Regions from separate parts of the Homo sapiens genome. Here all the other regions are linked to region 2. Evidence: promoter capture Hi-C in 16 types of primary human blood cells and fetal thymus (Javierre and others, 2016). All regions are on one chromosome and are shown on one strand. The core of a region is centred on a gene start or on the middle of the fragment in contact, and the rest is flanking DNA. Distances in the headings are between cores, read along the strand shown. Region 1 has its middle 7.0 kb from the start of KRT19. Region 2 holds the start of KRT39 (keratin 39). Region 3 has its middle 7.4 kb from the start of LINC00974.

What was found. Contacts are between HindIII fragments. The CHiCAGO score rates a contact against its expected background, and 5 or more counts as called.
Region 1: a fragment that was not itself captured here is called in contact with the fragment with the promoter of KRT39 in region 2 in 4 of 17 cell types (total CD8 T cells, naive CD8 T cells, activated CD4 T cells and 1 more); the score reaches 7.6 in total CD8 T cells.
Region 3: a fragment that was not itself captured here is called in contact with the fragment with the promoter of KRT39 in region 2 in 1 of 17 cell types (total CD4 T cells); the score reaches 5.6 in total CD4 T cells.

The regions. Positions count from the first base shown.
Region 1 is chr17:41,532,968-41,537,740 of GRCh38, reverse strand. No RefSeq gene overlaps it. Among named protein-coding and RNA genes, the nearest start is that of KRT19, 7.0 kb to the right of the region's middle. The HindIII fragment of the contact is 2,229 bases long and covers 955-3,183 here.
Region 2 is chr17:40,964,815-40,969,525 of GRCh38, reverse strand. It overlaps KRT39 (keratin 39), which reads left to right and starts at 2,578. Exons shown (of 7, transcript NM_213656.4): 1 at 2,578-3,137. The coding sequence starts at 2,670. All of the region lies in intron 1 of LOC107985072 (a long non-coding RNA gene), which reads right to left. The HindIII fragment of the contact is 5,044 bases long and covers 1-4,711 here.
Region 3 is chr17:41,559,790-41,563,996 of GRCh38, reverse strand. No RefSeq gene overlaps it. Among named protein-coding and RNA genes, the nearest start is that of LINC00974, 7.4 kb to the right of the region's middle. The HindIII fragment of the contact is 7,476 bases long and covers 1-4,207 here.

The DNA of each region.
Region 1 (4,773 bases), core at 820-3,319, 570 kb before region 2:
TCCACAGGGAGCAGCCAGGGGTGGGGAGGGCGTCCCAGTGCTCCTCTGCTCAAAGCACCATTACTCTCAAGATAAAAGCCAGCGCCTCCATTAGACCGCAGACACCGAGTGCTCTGTCCTGGCCTCCCCTGGGCTCATCTCCTGCACACTGTCATTCTGGCTCACCCCTCTTAACCACTGGGACTTCTTGGTGTTGCCTGAACAGACCAAGCTCCCTCTTCCTTAGGGATTTTGGCTTTGCTGTGCCCTTGGCTTGGAATAATCTTCCCTGGGGATCTGAGGGCTCCTTTGCCTCATTCAGGTCTCTGTTCATGTGTCACCTCCTCAGAGAGGCCTTCCCTGACCACCCCTCAATGGCCTTCCCTGCTGACCCCCTCCCTGGCTTTGCTACTCTGCCCCCTACCCCAGATGAAAGCCCCAGGAGGGCAGGCAGCTTTAGACTGCCCTGCTCTTGAAGCCCAGAGTCTAGAAGGTGCCTGGCACACAGAAGGTGGACCATAATTGGTGTTAAATGAAAAAAAATAAAAGGGCTTCAGGAGAAGGCTCTGTTCTGGCAAATAATCATTAAATGTTTACTAGTGCTGGAGTCAGCCCTGGGGCTAGATACAGAAGCTCCAAGTCTAGATGGGGAGACAGAGCTGTGGTAAGTGCTGGGCAAGTGGGTGGGGGTGGGAATGCTGACCCAGCCTGAGCGGGTCAGGGTGGACATATCAGGGAGAAGAAACCCATGCCAATGGAACTGAGAGGAGCTGGCATGGCTGCCATCCAGGTAAAGGGAGGGGGCAGGTAGGCAGGGAGGATGCTCTGGCCAACGCCGGGTGGAGGTGGCCTCCAGCATACAGCGGGTGTTCAGTGAAAATGCTTGCAGTGTCCAAGACCCCTGCATCCGAGGAGGACAATTTGAGTTTCTGGACGGGAACCTTCCCAGGTGAGGGGGAGTACAGAGCTGAAGCTTCCCCTCAGGAGTCGTGGGATCAGATGGGTTTTGAAAGGAAAGATTTTGCCTGTGGAGGGGTCTTGCTCATCTGGGACTGCCCAGAGTCTGTTCTTGAAGGAGGCAGCATCGCCACCACAGCCCACCAGGATCCTGATGGGAGGGAAGTTTGTCAGCCAGAAGGCAGCAGGGAAGCACCCAGGTGCCCTCTCCTGGGTGCTGGGAATCCGGGCAGGCACCCGGACATTTTCTTTCTCTCTGTCCTGTGTCTGGCACTCTCCTTGCCCCAGTCCAGATGGAATGGGCCACAGCTTGAAGTGGGGCAGAGGCGTCAAATGAGGCCCAAATTGAGTAGGGCAGGACAAAAGCTGAGAGAGACACCCCTGGCTAAGATCGGTGGGGGGGCCTCCCTGTGTGGAGTGAGCGTGAGCCTGCTCACGTACTCACCTCCAGGGAGAGGGAGTGAGGAGGAGGCAGGCCCCTGTCTTCCCAGGCTGTGGAATGTGGCACCTCGGGGAAGCTGGCCCCTGGACCTGGGACTATTCCTTGCAGGACTCAGCTGTCCCTCCCCACCCACACCATCTGCCCTGGTTCTGGTCGGGCTGGTTTTTCCTCCCCTGAGGACTTGGAGAGGAACACCAGGGGCCATCCTGACCTAGCTTACTTGCCCTGCCCTCCCCCTTTCCTGGGTTTCCACGTCTCAGGAAGCCATTGAGATGCAGCAGAAATGGCCAGACCTGGGCTGTGCGGAGGCTCAAGTCCCGAGAGCATCAGCCTCCTGACCCGAGTGCGGCTTTGGGCTGCTCATGACATGGCCGGCGCTGCCCTGTCCTGGCTGCTGGGCCCTTCAAGACAGTGAATAGGATTCTTCCCCATCTGGGCAAGAGCAAGGCTCCCCAAGAGACGGCATGGGTCCCAGGGCTGGGGGATGGTAGTGGCAGGGATCTTGCTCAGCTGAGACCGTCCAGGACTTGGCCAGCATCTCTGGCACACAGCAGTGCTTTGTGCAGGGTCCCTCTCTTTCATCACTCCCATTTGTCATCAGGTCATAACAGCAGGTCTTGTCTCTGTCCTTTACTCTCTAGCCCACCACTATGGCTAGATTCAGACCCTCTCATCTCTAGCATGGACTATTTTAAAACACCCTAAACTGGGTTCTTTATCCCTGGTCATCCCTGCTTCCCTTGACACATCAACCCATTTGCCACACAAAACCCACATCCCATCCCTGATGAAAATGACTTTCCATTGTCTTGCTTACAGCTCCCCCACAGCTGACCTTGTCCTCAACGACCCCCTTCCCTCCCCTCCTGCCATGGCCCAACCATATTGAATTGCCAGTAGTCTCCCAAGCTGGGCCCGGTTACTCATCTCTTCCAGGCCCCCATTCTCTTTACTCTTCTGCCTGAGAAATACCTACTGGTCTGTCAGCTTCTTGCTCAAGGGTCATGCCTCTGTAATTAAATAGCTCTCAATGCCCCCAGGCAGACATAATTCCCAGTGTCTACATACTTGATCACATTGATTGGTTTGAGGCATACCTCAATACTGGGTCAATAGCTCTAGCCTGATGGCCCACATGGTGGCTCCCACTCCAGCACCCCCTAAAGATCTTCCAGTTATTTCAGAAAGTCCCCAGGGGAATGCCTCGCATGTGCCCACAAGGTGGCTGCTGTCTTGCATAGAATACCCTCTGCTCTGCCACCAGCTGTAGCCCCACAGATCCACGCCACCACCTGGGAGAGCCTTGTTGTCTGTTGTGAGAACACCCAGGGGGGCCAACTTCAGATGCTTCCAGACGATGGATCCTTGGAGAACCAGAGTGGGAGGGCTTTCCTCAGGTGTAAGTCATCGGCTGCAAGGAGCTCTCCCTGTACTCAGACTCTTCCAAAGTTCTTCTTGTCCGTTTTGCCTTCTTGTTTCATAAAGAAGTAAAACTAGCCTGGCGGACCCAGGGGTGGGGGCACGAGGATGGAAACCCTTTCCAGGGTCTCTTTTCTCCTCACATCTAGTTCTCCCTCTTCCAAAACTTCCTCTCTCATTTCTCAATTCAAGGCTAGGGTTGGTGTGGATGAGCAGAGACAATGATGTCAGTGGTGAGTGCAGGGAGGGGAAGAGGGTATTGACTATATGAAATTTGGCTAGTTCTAAATGTCTGTGGTTTAGTGTTACTTAAGAAATTATTTACTTTAATTAACAAGAAATACTAAATACATTCTTATAAAACTTAAAACCATAGAGATTAAGCTTAGGTTCCTATTGGCTACCATCCTTCAATCAGATTCCTTCCTTACCTATGCATATATTCATACATATTCATATGGACCTTAGCAATAAGTCATCTTTTGAATGTATGTTGACATGAATTTATCATATTAAGTGTGTTGCTCTCCAACTAGATTTACTGTACCCAACAACTAGTTTTTTTTTTTTTTTCTTTTGAGATGGAGTTTCACTCTTGTCACCCAGGCTGGAGTGTAATGGCTCGATCTCAGCTCACTGCAAGCTCTGCCTCCCGGGTTCAAGCAATTCTCCTGCCTTAGCCTCCCGAGTAGCTGAGATTACAGGCACCCGCCGCCACGACTGGCTAATTTTTGTACTTTTAGTGGAGACGGGGTTTCACCATGTTGGCCAGGGTGGTCTCGAACTCCTGACCTCAGGTGATCCACCCACCTTGGCCTCCCAAAGTGCTGGGATTACAGGCGTGAGCCACCATGTCCGGCCCAATAACTAGTTCTTTAGGGTTTTCAGTGTCACTATTCATTGTCATTACTCATTCCATTTAATTTCTAGTCCTCCACAGCAGGATGTTACATAGTTACTGAACGCCTCCCCGCCATTAGTGATTGTTTGTGTCTTTGCACTGTAGCAAACAATGCTGCATAGGGCATCCTTTTATATGACTTCCTCAATACACGGGCCAGGGTTTCTTTCGGATGAACACGAAGAGTGGAACTGATGGCTCAAGAAGTGCATGAATGTTAAAAAAAATGATGACATTGTCAAATCGCTCTGCAAAGTGGTTACTACAACCCACCTCCCACCAATGTGTTTGAGGAGGTTCATTTACTCATGGCTTCTCTACACTTGACATCATCAAACGTTGTGAGCAGGCCAGTCTAATCAGGAAAAGTAAATCTCCTGTCTTCTCCTGAATTGGGGAGAGGTGGTCCCCTGGCTGCCTTAGTTGGGTAGGGGTCTGGGAGGGGGCCTGGTACTGTTGACAGAAACTTCCAGCCAGCCCTGCTTACGGTCCCTCTTCCACTTTTCCTCTCCATGTCTGTGGTGCCCCAATTCTTGAGCTTCTTTAGAGTATGTTGAGAATGTGCTTGCCTCTCACGGGCTTCCTGCTCTCTCCTCTGTTGACCCCTTCCTAATCCCCCAAACCCTGGGTCTCAGCTTTCTCTCATCTTCTGTGTTACCATTTTTGAGCTTTAAAGCTTTTGTTGACATTTCTCATCTTTGACCCTCCCTCCTTCCTTTCCTCCTTCCCTCCTTCTTTCCCTCCCCTCCTCCTTCCCTCCCTTCCTCCCTCCCTCCCTCCCTCCCTCCCTCCCTTCCTTCCTTCCTTCCTTCCTTTCTTCCTCCCTTCCAGCTGGGTCTTACTCTGTCACCCAGGCTGGAGTGCAGTGACGCAATCTTGGCTCACTACAGCCTCCACCTCCCAAGCTCAGGTGATCCTCTCACCCCAGCGTCCTGTGTAGCTGGTACTACAGGTGCACACAACCATGCCCAGCTAATTGTTTGCATTTTTGGTAGAGACAGGAGTTCGCCATGTTCCCTAGGCCAGTCTCAAACTCTTGAGCTCAAGCAGTCTGCCCGCCTCGGCCTTCCAAAGC
Region 2 (4,711 bases), core at 1,329-3,828:
AGCAATGAGAGTGCTATAGGCAGTGAATGTATCTGTTATCAAACTTTGATTTTTTTCAGTTTGATAGGTGGAAAACTAAAATATCTCAGTATAATTTAAATTTACATTTCTCTTTTCATGAGTGACATTGAGCATTTTTTCTTATTTTAAGTGCCTTTTGTATTTTCCTTTTGGTCACTGTCTAGAGTGTAATTGTAATATTGTTTCCCAGTTTGTCATCTTGTCTTCTGGTTTTACAGGTTGTATTTTTCACCCAAGCACAAGTTCAAACACTGTTATTTTATGGAGTCAAATCTAACAGTTTTTTACGGCTTCTTAATTTTGAGTCATCATTGGAAAAGTCTTCTGACTCCAAATTTATAAAATAATTATCCTTTTGGGCATATTTATTATTTATTTTTCATATCTCAATCTTTGATCTACTTGTAATTCGTCCCACTGTAAAGGATGAAGTATGGTTTCAACATTCCCTGCCCCCACACCAAAGGGAATACAAAATTGTCCCCAAAGTACATATAATACATATAACGGTCTACCTTTTCCCCATGGCTTTTATTTTGTATTTTATTTTATTTTATTAAAAATGAAATCGCACTGTGTTGCCCACCTGAACTTGAACTCCTGGGTTCAAGTAATTCTTCTGCCTCAGCCTCCTACAGAATGGGAGAAAATTTTTGCAATCTGTCCATCTGACAAAGGGCTAATATACAGAATCTACAAGGAACTTAAACAAATTTACAAGAAAAAACAAACAACCCCATCAAAAAAATGGGCTAAGGATATAGAAAGACACTTCTCAAAAGAAGACATTTATGTGGCCAACAAACATATGAAAAAAGCTCATCATCACTGGTCACTAGAGAAATGCAAATCAAACCACAATGAGATACCATCTCACACCAGTTAGAATGACAATCATTAAAAAGTCAGGAAACAACAGATGCTGGAGAGGATGGAGAGAAATTGGAACACTTTTACACAGTTGGTGGGAGTGTAAATTAGTTCAACCAATGCAGAAGACAGTGTGGCAATTTCTTAAGGATCAAGAACCATAAATACAGTTTGACCCAGCAATCCTATTACTTGATACATACCCAAAGGATTATAAATCATTCTACTATAAAGACACATGCACATGTATGTTTATTGCAGCACTATTCACAATAGCAAAGACATGGAACCAACCCAAATGCCCATCAATGATGGACTGGATAAAGAAAATGTGGCACATATACACCATGGAATACTATACAGCCATAATAAAGGATTAGTTCATGTCCTTTGCAGGGACATGAATAAAGCTGGAAACCATCATTCTCAGCAAACTCACACAGGAACAGAAAACCAAACACTGCATGTTCTCACTCATAAGTGGGAGTTGAACAATGAGCACACATGGACACAGGGAGGGGAACATCACACCGGGGACTGTGAGGGGGTGAGGGGCTAGGGGTGGGATAGCATTAGGAGAAATACCTAATGTAGATGACAGGTTGATGGGTACAGCAAACCACCATGGCACTTGTATACCTATGTAGCAAACCTGCACGTTCTGCACATGTATCCCAGAACTCAAAGTACAAAAAATCTCATAATTCAAGAAAAAAAAAAAAGGATGAAAAGGGGCCACTAGCTGAGGATGTGGACAGCCTGTAGAAGCTGGAAAAGGCAAGAAAATGATGTTCCCCTAGAGCCTCCATAAAGGATTAGCAGCAAGTAACTTTCTGAAGAAAATGCTGAGTAAGTATTCCTCAGAAAGAAAACACACCCCTTTCAATGAATCCTATTTAAACATCCAGTATAAACCAACACTGTGATACATTTTTATCTAATGTAATACCACAAGCAAACACCAAGCACTAAAAATGTTATAAAATGTGGACTTTGGAAAACCAAAAGAGAGCTAGTCTCTTTTCCAAGAAATTTCTTATTAGCAATCAAACCCTACCTTTTCCCCATGGCTTTTATTTTATTTCATATTTTATTTATATTTTATTTTATGTTATTACATTTTATGGAAAGCTAAAACATAAATCTAGCAATTATCTTTAAAACAAGACTTTTAAAAGACTAACATTTTAATTCATACTCACATTGTCCTGACACTGAAAATGGGGAAACCATTTGGGCAGAACAAACTAAAATATTGACTTCTGATTTCTAAGTTTACCAATAATTATTAAACATTAATAGTTTCCCTTTTCTAGAGAAGAAAGGAAAAGAAGGATGAACTCATTCCTGGTTAAGCTCAGTGCCAAGTGGAGAGGTCAACAAGAATGTAATGAACTTAGTATACTCACACCTGCTTAATAATGGATGCTGTTAGGACAGTTCCTTTTGAAGACATAATTTGAAGCTCTGGGTCCAATAGACAAGTAGTAGTTATGATGGGTAATAACTTACTAACAGCCTAAATGCACATGTTTATGAGACAAATAACTCTTCTTAAGCAAGTAAAAAGCAGACTAATAAGATGTTCCTACAGGATTTGATATAAACCTGAGAAAGGAAAACATCCCACCTGTGTGACACCACGTAGAAGAGAGGCTATATAAGCACTTCAAAGAGGAAAACACCAAGAGCCTTGGAATTCAGACTCTGTGGAGGTGGCTTGAGCTTTTCATCCTGGTGACCACAGACCTGGAACAAACTAAAGCCAGACACATACTATGGACACCAAGGGCTGTACAACAACCAATTCTCCTTCAACCCCATGTCAAAACTGCTCTAGGATTACAAATGTTAGTACCATCTCTTCTAACAACGGCTGCCATCCTGGTGGCCTTACAGTCAACAACTGTCAACCAGCTGGCCACGTTCTCAGAATTCCCTGGGACCAGGGCTGCCAACCCACTCCTCGCTTTTGTCGCAAGCCCATCTACCTAATGAACAACTTCAATGCCCGTTTTTCTCTGGATGACTGCAGCTGGTATGGTGAAGGCATCAACAGTAATGAGAAGGAGACCATGCAAATCTTGAACGAGCGCCTTGCTAACTACCTGCAAAAGGTGCGAATGCTAGAACGAGAGAATGCTGAACTGGAATCTAAAATCCAGGAAGAAAGTAACAAAGAGCTCCCTGTTCTATGTCCTGATTACCTGTCTTACTACACTACCATTGAGGAGCTCCAGCAGAAGGTAAGATTCCTAAGAACCTGTTTAATCGTGTTGTGAATTAATGGTTTCCAAGCAACAGTTATTTGCTAAACTTTAATATTTTTTGTTCAGTTGATGCTGAAAATTTTTTTGAAGAATAGAAAAATTTCTTGAGTGAAATTGTCATCTTGAGGCAGCATTCAGAGTCTGATAGTATTTCTGGTCAGGCGCAGTGATGCACACCTGTAATCCTAACACTTTGGGAGGCTGAGGCAGACAGATCACTTGAGCCCAGGAGTTCTAGACCATCCTGGGCAACATGATGAAATTCCATCCTTACACACACACACACACACACACACATACACACACAAAAAAAAATTAGATGGGCGTGGTGGCACATGCCTGTGGTCCCAGCTACTTGGGAGGCTGAGGTGGGAGGATCACTTGAGCCCAAGAGGTTGAGGCTGCCATGAGCCAAGATCCTGCCACTGCACTCCAGCCCAGACAAAAGTGAGACTATGTCTTTAAAAATCAGAAACAAAAAGAAGAGTCTCATGGTGTTTCCTTTCTCCAGAAATACACTCTACCATTATAACTAGATGACTCAGGACCAAAAGATGTTAACAGCAAGTTGTTGCCATTTTTTAAATAAAAATAGGGAAACAGAGATCAGAGAAAATAAATTTTGCTTTAATGAGTTTCTAAGCAATTTAGTTTTTATCCATTTTTCAACCATCACCACCTTTTTCTCCTTTTATGCTTATGTTATCATCTCCACATTGCTTGGTTTGTTTCTACACCAAACCTAAGTTTGTTATGCACAGACGTATTCTGCTACTACATATCTGGATTTATTCAGTTTTATTCATTCAACAAATGTTTACTGAGCAGCAACAACATTGGGCCAAACATTGTTCTAGATTCTGGGAAAATATTGGTGACCTTTAAAAAGTCCCTGCCCTCATGGAGTTGACATTCTAGTGGATCATGGTATTTATATAAATTTAGGATGGATTTTATTTTATTTTTTATTTATTTATTTATGTATTTATTGAGATGGAGTCTCACTCTGTCACCAGGCTGGAGTGCAATGGCGCGATCTCTGCTCACTGCAACCTCCAGCTCCCAGGTTCAAGCGATTCTCCCTCCTCTGCCTCTCTAGTAGCTGGGTCTACAGGCACGCACCACCACACCCAGATAATTTTTGTATTTTTTTTTTTTTTTGAGACGGAGTCTCGCTCTGTCTCCCAGGCTGCAGTGCAGTGGCGCGATCTCGGCTCACTGCTAGCTCCGCTTCCTGGGTTCATGCCATTCTCCTGCCTCAGCCTCCCAAGTAGCTGGGACTACAGGCGCCCGCCACCACGCCCAGCTAATTTTTTTTTTTTTTATATTTTTAGTAGAGACGGGGTTTCACCGTGTTAGCCAGGATGGTCTTGATCTCCTGACCTCGTGATCTACCCGCCTCGGCCTCCCAAAGTGCTGGGATTACAGGCGTGAGCCACTGCGCCCGGCCAATTTTTGTATTTTTTAGTAGAGACAGGGTTTCACCATGTTGGCCAGGATGGTCTTGATCTCTTGACCTCGTGATCCGCCCGCCTCAGCCTCCCAAGTGC
Region 3 (4,207 bases), core at 632-3,131, 600 kb before region 2:
AGAAAAAGGAGATTGCAGTCCTCCAGCTGCAAAGACCTGAAGTTTTCCAAGATCAAAGAAGAATTTGGAAGCAGATTACCCCCAGATGAGAATTCAGATGAGAGCTTAGCCTGGCTGACATCTTGATTTCACCCTTGTGATATCCTGCAGAGAGAATCCAATTACGCCTGTGGAACTGTCAGCTAATACATGGGTGCTATTTTAAGCTGCTGAGTTTGCAGTAATTTGTTAAGCAGAAATAGAAAGCAAATACAGACCCCGTCTCTAGATGGAGGTGTGTCCATGTCACGTTGAAGAACAGCATATGCAATGGGATATATTGATGTGGTCATTTTTGGAAAACACAAATTGCCACAGGCTGGCTCAAATCACTGGCAGAGGGGTTATGTAAGAGTACACTTAGGGAATGAAGTGACACAGAAACCCAGGGGGATTCAAGATCCTGGAATTTGTGGATATGGGAGCAGGCAGGTCATCAGTGTCTCTGGGTCAAAGGTGGCTCTAGCAAGACACCTGAGCAGTGAGAGTCTGTGATCTCTTTTCTAGCGCTCCGCTGTTAATATGCAACTGTTTACTCTTCTCTGGTTCTTTTTCTGCTACCTGCTGTCTTCCTCATCTACCATTTTACATATCTTTTTATTTATTTTATTTATTATTATTATTATTTTTTGAGACGGAGTCTCACTCTGTCGTCCAGGCTGAAATGCAGTGGCACGATCTCAGCTCAATCCAACCTCTACCTCCCGGGTTCAAGCGATTTTCTGCCTCAGTCTCCTGAGTAGCTGGAACTACAGGCACCTGCCACCACGCTGAGCTAATTTTTGTATTTTTAGTAAAGACGGGGGTTTCACCATGTTGGCCAGACTGGTCTTGAACTCTTGATCTCAGGTGATCCACTTGCCTCGGCCTCCCAAAGTGCTGGGATTACAGGTGTGAGCCACAAGGCCTGGCCCATTTTATGTATCTTTTCTCTACCTCAATTTGGGAAATTCTCCACCTTAAGTGTGAAGCTCCCCAAGGGAGAGGTCAGAAACTTGCTTTTCCGAGCTCACCTGCATCTAGGGCATGGGCCCCTGACAGCCCTGCCACTCAGGTGCGCCCGCACAAGACGTTTTTTTTTTTTTTTTAACCATGGCACCCCATTGGAGTGAAGGACTTTGATTTTGATTTAAAGGAGGTGCTGAGTGGAATTTTTTATGGCAGGAACAAGGTTGGGCAGAGATATGTGATTTTTTGAGGAAGCAATAGCAGCGGCTCTGGCAAAGACATGCAGTGCCCATCATCCATAGTTTGAGCTTCAATTTTGGTGGCCAGAAGTGACAGCAGTGGTGTGTTCCTAGAGCAATCCTTGAGTGTGATTTGGGGAATTTTTCTGTTTGCATACCCTCCAAGTTTGATTCTCTGCACATCCTGGAAAAGATGCCCAGTAGTTGCTCATTATTTCACAGGGAATACATTCAAAGATCCTGACTGGATGCCCAAAACTGTGGATAGCACCTAAATCTATCTACACTATGCTTTTTCCTACACATTCATACTTAAGATACAGTTTACTTTATAAATTAGGCAGACCAAGAGATTAACAACAATAACTAATAAAATAGAATCGTTATAACAATATACTGTAATAAAAATTATTTGAATGTGGTCTCTCTCTTTCAAAATATCTTATCATACTGTAGATCTTAGCAACCTCAGCGTATGGTTTTTTTCTTTCCGTAGTAAGTTTTGAACTGTCATCTTTTCTCTTAAAGAAAGCATTTTGCTGGCTGGGCGCGGTGGCTCATGCCTGTGATCCCAGCACTTTGGGAGGCCAAGGCTGGAGGATCACCTGAGGTCAGGAGTTTGAGACCAGCCTGACCAGTATGGAGAAACACTGTCTCTTCCAAAAATACAAAATTAGCCAGGCATGGTGGCGCATGCCTGTAATCTCAGGTACTTGGGAGGCTGAGGCAGGAGAATCGCTTGAACCCGGGAGGCAGAGGTTGAGGTAAACCGAGATCACGCCATTGTGCTCCAGCCTGGGAAACAAGAGCAAAACTCCTTTTAAGAAAAAAAAAAAAGCACTTTGTGGCTTCCCTTTGGCAAATCTGAATTATCAGCATCACTGCTCTTGCACTTTGGGGTCGTAATTAAGTAAAATAAGGGAACACAAGCACGGCAATACTGCAACAGTTGATCTGACAACTGAGACAGCTACTAAGCGACGACTAGTGGGTGGGTGGTGCATAGAGCATGGAGAGCTGGACAAAGGGATGATTCCTGTCCTGGGCTGGACAGAGTGGGGCAGTGTGAGATTTCATCATGCTCTTCAGGGCAGCACACTTCAAAACTGACAAATTGTTTATTTCTGGAATTTTCCATTTAATATTTTTGGATGACAGTTGACCACAGGTAACTGAAGCTGTGGAAAGCGAAACCATGGATAAGGGGAATGACCGTGTTGCTTTCTCTGCAGGTGAAAGCATATTTATTCTGGTACTCTTTGTTTATTGGGATAAAGAAAAAAGAATTTCCCACAGCAGGTGCCAGGGTCAATGGTGATCTGCTTTAGAAAAGGGACACAATCTGGATCAACGACTGCTGTTGGAACAACCATGTGATAAATTGTAAAATAATTCATGGCTATTCTCTAACATCTGTTCATGTTCTGCACAGAAAAACTAGGCAAGTTAACCCTAAATTTATCATTTTTTTTTTGAGACAGGGTCTCTCTCTGTTGCCCAGGCCGGTGGGCAGTGGTACAATCACAGTTCACTGAAGCCTTGACCTCCCAGGTTCAAGCAATCCTCCTACCTCAGGCTCCCAAGTAGCTGGGACTACAAGCGTGTGCCACCACGCCAGACTAATTTTTGAGGTTTTTTTTTTTTTTTTTTTTTTTTTTAAACTAGAGACAGGGATCTCACTCTATTGCCAGGGCTGATCTTACATTCCTGTGTTCTCTCCCCATCTTGCCCTTCCAAAGTGCAGGGATTACAGGCATGAGCCACCACTCCTGGCCCATCAAATCTTTCATGTGGCACTAATCTCTGTCATTCCCTTAGAGATGTAGTGTTGCTGGTCCTTTTTCTAAACCACGTAATCCTTACTGGTAAGGATCAGGATCCTTTTACTGACTATGTCTAGTCCACTCCAGACACTGGGAAATAACCACAGGATTGGTCTGGGATACCACTGGGCTCATGAGAAGCAAACTTGGGCTAAAACTCCATTTGTCATCTGATCTCTATATTGGTTAGATTCTCAATTGCAACTACCAGAAACTACTTTGCCTATTTTAACAAGTAAGGGATTTTCAAGAGCTCTAGATACCTTAGAGAATCATTAGGAGGGCTGGAGAAACAGAATCTAGGGTGATTTTTCCAGAACCCTCCAAATGACAAAGCAGAGTGGATCTGCCAAAGGAGTTGTTGCCTCTGCCAAGACCATGAAACCACCAAGTCAGATTGGAGCCTTCTGAGTCCATTCTGCACTAATTCTGGACTCAGCTGGAGTTGCAGAGCCACGCTGCTTCTGCTGTCCATACCAGTAAGCTGGATGTCCCAGGTGAACCTCATTTCCTCACCTACTTCCCTTCTAAACCAAGTCCACATGGGTGCGTCTGACTAGTAGAACCTAAATTGCTCAGCTCATCTTAGTGGCAAGGGAGGCTGGTAAATGTAGTTTTTAGATCTCCCTGGAAAAGAATAGTGACAAGATGACAGATACAACCTACACTCACATGAGCTTCCATTCTAACTGGGGAACCACAGTATTGCTCTGCATTTTCAGAGATTAGAATTGGTTTGGAGCCAGCGTCCAATCATCCCTAAAGGCCTGGGTATTTTCCTTCCCTCAGGAGTCAGCTATTCTTGTAAATACCCACAGATTCCTATGGGAAGGTCAGGGTGGCAACCCCTGCCTTCTGGACACCCAGGTTCTTGTCTGGTGTCCAGGAAGAATCAGGTCACATGAACTGTTTGAAAGGTGATGAATGCAGAAGATTTTATTGAGCATAGGGTGGCTCTCAGTGGACGTATAGTGCATGCTTGTGATGTTACTGCAGGGCCCTTCCTCAAAGCCTCCCCTTCATTCAGAGTTCTCTGGGTCTATGAGCCAATTCCGATTTTGGAATTGGAATCATGGGGCTCAAGACAGGTCTCTTACTGACCTAAAGTTTTCTTTTGTGGGGGCGGGGTAGTGAATGTGGCAGATATGGAAGACTGAC